Regions from separate parts of the Homo sapiens genome. Here region 2 is linked to region 1. Evidence: promoter capture Hi-C in human tissues and cell types (Jung and others, 2019). All regions are on one chromosome and are shown on one strand. The core of a region is centred on a gene start or on the middle of the fragment in contact, and the rest is flanking DNA. Distances in the headings are between cores, read along the strand shown.

Region 1 (2,700 bases), core at 171-2,670:
ATTCTTCATTTAACTTTAGAACAGTCCACCAGAGTGGCTATTTGCACACAAGGATCCCCAAGCACCAGAAAGGTGAGCACCTTGCTCTGCAAGTGGAGGAACTGAGATTCAAACGCAGACCCGTGTGCGTCTTTACTACACCAGCAAGAGCCTGGGTCCTATTGACTGGGATCCTGACCAGCTTGGAGAGCACTGAACTCATCCCAGCAGGCCCGGGGCAAAGGACCATTGCTAGGAGGGACAGAGTTTCTTCTCAGTCAAGGAAGCCCTCGACCACAGTCATCACTTACAGCTTGCGTTTGCTTAACCCACGGAGCACTCCCAAACGACCGCTCCCGGGAGGAAGGACATCTTACCCAGAGCTCTTCACGTCTGTCCAACCCCTGGATGGCTTCCTCTAATTGTGCCCCAGTATGCTCCACCCCAGCTCTGTAGGGAGAGAAACCTCCTAGAGGGGAATGAACATGGTCTGCAGCAAAAGGAAGCCGGTCCCTTTGTGGCTAAAACACCCTACATTCAAGGGAGTCAGGAGAAGATGGGTGTAGCGAATGTGGAGAGAAATTGGGCGTTACTGGAGTTTAGTCCTGGAAAGGAACTTGGGGAACCGCAGGCCCAGAGAACGAACTCATGCAACAAAACCAGTGAAGCTGAGGAAAGAGGACTAGACTAGTTCTGGTCCCCACTCTGCTGCTAACAAGCTGTGTGACCTTGAATGAATTATCCGCTCCCCACTCTCTGGGCCACAGCATTCCCATTTATAACAGGCAAGGGTGGACCCAATGAGTTCTAAGGTCCCTTGCAGCTTTCATTCAAATAGTTTAGGGAAAGGACAAAAAGGAGAGGAGCCCCCTCCTGGTGCCTGTCTTTTTATTTCTGATACGCCAGGCTACTTCTCTGCTCCCTTCTTTGCAAGCTCCGCTCTTGCCCCACCCCAGGACTCAACATTCCTAACTCTCTCTAGCTTAACCATGATGCCTCAAATGCTGTCATGCTCATAGGTGGTAAGATAGCTGACCTTCCTGCAGCTGCACTGTTCCCCACCCTCCTCTCCACAGCCCTCGGAGGACTGAAGCATCCCCTGCCCCACCTCAGCAGATGGTCAGCCAAGTCCTGCTGCTTCCCGAAGTCTGCTTACCTTCTCCCTGTGCCAGGAGTGTGGGGAGGAGCAAGGCGAGCAGCGCCTGCTGGACCCACAGCAGCATAGCGAGCTTTCCAAGCATAGGAGTGCCTCCGAGTGCTCAGGACGAGGCCCACCAAGGGCCAGCTTGCCTGCCCTCTGCCAACCTCATGTCCCAGCCAGCCTGCCTCTCGTGGCCACTGCTCACACCTTCTGAGGCTGCAGCCTCACACTCCCTGGGCCACCAAGGTTGGGGAGCTGCCAAGTTTTCCTGCAATCAGTCCTTCAGCTGGATCATGTTTCAGGCGGGAGGAAAGGGGAGGGGACAGCTGAGAGGGGAGCCCGCCCTAGCTGATGTCATGCTGTGGGAGCTCAGTCCACCCATTCAGCCAGGGGGCTTGGCCATGTTTCCCCAAGGAGTAACTTAGGTGGGGACAGGGGCTGCAGAAGCCCATGAGACAAGGGTGCAGCCTGACCCCTGGGAGGTGCACCACGCTGCTGCTTTCATTGATGTCCCTTGGCAAGTATGTTTCTGTGGCACTGGGCTGGGGCAGGATAGGGTGAGTCAGGCAGGAGCAGGAAGACCATTCTTTTACTCCCCAGGGTGACATAACCAAGCAGGTGACTGGGCACCTCTGTAGTTACGGGAAGGGTAACTGGAGTCACCACAGGTCTGCCCTTTTGTCCTCATCTAATTAGTTATACTTAAATAGTAAAATATATATTAAAAATAATAAAATATATAATAAAAATAAACTTTTACTATACATATTTATTTCATGCATTCTTGCCATACATAATAAATACATATAGTAAAAATAATAATAATACATGCACTTTGTAGAAAAATATGAAGAAAAATTAAAATCATCTGTAAACTTATGACTCAGAGACAGCCACTCTTAACGTTTTGGTATATATTCTTCCATAATTTTCTTCAGTAATGTGTATACAATGAAGTAAATATCACATACATATAATTTTGTGCCCTCTTTTTTTGCTTGATATCATTTCGTAAGCATTTCTTTTCTTTTCTTTCTTTCTTTTTTTTTTTTTTTTTGAGACAGAGTCTCGCTCTGTCACCCAGGCTAGAGTGCAGTGGCGCAATCACTGCTCACTGCAGCCCCAACCTCCCCCATCTCAGCTGATCCTCCCATCTCAGCCTCTTGAAGAGCTGGGACTACAAATGCGAGCCATGCCTGGCTAATTTTTGTATTTTTGGTAGTCCCCCAAAGGGACTAGAGGCATGAGCAATCACACCTGGCCTCGGAAGCATTTTCAATACCTTCCTCTTAAATGGAAGCGTCTTTCTTGAAAGAAGTGTTTCTTTCTTCATTGCAAGTTAAATAGACAAGTATCTATCCCTCAGGCCTCAGCTGTGTACCCCTAAAGTTGCCTGCAAGAAGAATTACTGTGCATTTTTATTTGAAGGAGTCCTACCCTAGCTCACCATTTGGGTAGATGTCCCCGTACCAATCAAGTTAAGTATCAACAACAAAACATTTTCTTCCTTTTTAATTTATTTTCCACTTGACTCTAAGTGTGGAATAGGCTAGGAACCCTGCAGTAAGGAGGAATTTTCT
Region 2 (2,700 bases), core at 97-2,596, 1.1 Mb before region 1:
TCAGCAGGGAATTACTTTCTCATCTATGAAATAAATGAGATGTTAAACTAGTTTTCTGCTTCCTGTGGTACAAATGTATCAGTGTGCAGCCCCGTGCAGTGAGAAAACAAATGCCCAAGGCTTCTGATGATGGCGGCTGGAGCTGAAGAGGGGCACAGGACTCTGGGATCAGTGAGAGTGTGGCCTGGGGGAGAGGAGACCGGAATGAAATGAGATGTAAAGGAGAGAGAGGAAGGGTGCTCCGAAGGTGCAAACCCCTATTCAACAGAGCGAGGGAAGCAACTCAGGAGCGCCTGGGAGCTCTGTGCTGCTTCCTGTGGAGATTTTTTTTTTTTTTTTTTAATGATTGATTGGTTGCAGGTGACGCTTCTTGGGATTTCTTTAGAGCTTGAACACATGTCCATTCAGAATCTCACTGGCTTTTACAACCTTGATGGATCATTGGAAAGAGTGGGGAAGGATTCTTCTTAGTTCAGAGAGGGGGAAGCTGAGAACCAGGAAGGGGAGATGGTAAAGACTATTGAGTTAGGGGTAAAGTTGAGATTAAAAGTCAAGTCTATCAAGAAAGACAGACTGAGCATTCACGCTCGCTGCTTACAGATGGGGATGCTGCTGCTTCTGCAGCCTGGGTGTCTCCTCTCCCCGCATCAGCTCTTCCTCCTCACAATGACCACTTTCAATGACCTCGGTGCCAGGCTGAGACGCCAGGTGGGATGTGATTTAATGGAAGGCTCCTACTAAGGTGAGCTACATCATGAGGTGCCCTTTTCTGTACCCTGTCTGCCTGTTCTGTCAAATGCTCCAAATTCCCTTTAGAAATAGGGCCCAGCTCTCTTGGCTGTGTCCCTGTGCCTGTGTATGCCCCAGAATGGCAAGAATCATGTCTTTCTTGGTCATACCCTTGGCACATCGTCAGTAAATAAATGCTGAATGGGTGAAGACTCTCCTGCCTACTAAGTCCATGTAGCTTCCGGGCCAGTCTGTAAGGAAATGGTCCTGGTAGCGGGGGAGGTCCTGGTGCCTGACTGACCTTGAGCCCCAACTCCATTTCAAACCAAGGTCCTGGGGTTTTGGGGAGCCCGTGTCTTGGACTAGCAAGGCACTTGGTGACTCATATTCAGGCTTGGTTTAGCCCAGGACCAAGCTCCGCTGAGAGAACTGCTCACAGATTGCGAAGGCTTTGTGTGTCCTTTCTAATTAGAAAATTGCCTTTGGAATTGAAATATGTTTCACAGATGAATTTACTGAACTCCTTGCCGAGGTGCGATTCTCTCATGCTTGTTGTGAGACAATCACACTCTGAGGCGGCATATGGAGATATCAACATCTCTGCAAATTATGAAATCATCAGCGGTCAAAAATAGTCCCAACTTCTTGATTGCCTGAAAATAGCTGGGCTGACCACTGGGCATATCTGAGGTGTGGACCTATCCATGGGGATGGAGCAGGAGCTTCATCTTGCTTCAGTCTCCACCTATAGATTAGTTTAGTGCCCTGTCTGTGGCTTCTCTGCTCCGGCCTGGGGCTTTAAGGGAGTCTTTCTGGAAGTAAATCTAGAACCACAGTCCACAACTCATTTATACAACAATAGCTGAGTCGAAAATGCACATTTTCACTCATGTTTATTTAAAATAGTACCATTCTTCCCATTAACTGCAATAATATTTTTGGCATTATTAGAGAACAATTCTTTCATGTTCCTAAAGTACCTGAAATTTGGGGGCACCATTTTAAACATTACCAGCAAACGGGAAGATTGGCTGAGAGGTCTCACCAAGCCATGATCAGAAAGAATTTACCAGCCATTGGCCTATGGCACAGACGCTAGGAAAGGTGTCACTCAGAAGATCTTTGTAGGAGTTAAGTAAGTTCTCATCTGCGAAGAAAGCATTGGTGCCGCAGAGACTCACATCACATGATTACTACTCATACTAGTATAATTGCCAGTACAATTGCTGCATATTATGTAATATTTAATTTTCCCAACAGCCCCCAATCTGCAGGTGAGAAAAAAGTCTCCGAGAGGCTGAGTAAGGTTACACAGCTAGTAGAACTAATGAAACCAGGTTTTAAATTTAGATGGGACCGACCCCAAGGCCCATGTTCTTCCCATGATGTGATAAGGCCTCAGGGAACCGCGTGAGGGAGAAAGCATGAGAAGGCTGGGAGGGGAGCTGACTGGGGCAGTGGCTTTCGTGACTTCCCAGCCAGACCCAGCCACAGCCTGTTCTCTAAGGCTCCTCACTGCTTCCCAGGCCTTTCCAACTGCATCTCCTGGCATACTCTCCCTAAAAATGTATGCATAAGTGAATCTGTGTAGGAACAAAGTGAGGAATGCATAGAAACCCTGGCTTCAGAGGCCTCTCCATGGGCAGATGATAGTAAGGATTGGTGTTGGGCAGTCTATTAGTTTCTCATGGCTCTAACAAAGTTCTACAAACTGGGCGGCTTGAACACAACAGGATTTTTTCCCTCTGGACATTCTGGAGGTAGAAGTCAGGAATCAAGTTGCCAGCAGGGCCATGGTCCCTCTGAGACTCGGGGTGTATCCTTCCTAGCCTCTTCCAGCTTCTGGCTGTGGCCGGCAGTCCTCGCCATGGTGCTTGTTGGCTGGCAGCTGCATGGCCCCCATCTCTGCCTCTGTCCTCACCTGGAGTCTCTGTTAGTGCACGGCATTCTCTGCTTCTCATTAGGACATCG

What was found. The method cuts DNA at HindIII sites, captures the fragments that hold promoters and counts their contacts. A contact is called where the count stands out against the background at its distance.
Region 2: a contact is called between a fragment that was not itself captured here and the fragment with the promoter of HTR3A in region 1, in 1 of the 25 tissues and cell types used here (lymphoblastoid cells).

Annotation. Positions count from the first base shown.
Region 1 is chr11:113,973,828-113,976,527 of GRCh38, reverse strand. HTR3A (5-hydroxytryptamine receptor 3A) reads right to left here and starts at 1,420. Exons shown (of 9, transcript NM_000869.6): 1 at 1,136-1,420. The coding sequence starts at 1,202. RefSeq lists enhancers at 536-1,195, 1,196-1,857. The HindIII fragment of the contact is 12,101 bases long and covers 1-2,700 here.
Region 2 is chr11:115,069,002-115,071,701 of GRCh38, reverse strand. No RefSeq gene overlaps it. Among named protein-coding and RNA genes, the nearest start is that of CADM1-AS1, 330 kb to the left of the region's middle. The HindIII fragment of the contact is 6,637 bases long and covers 1-2,700 here.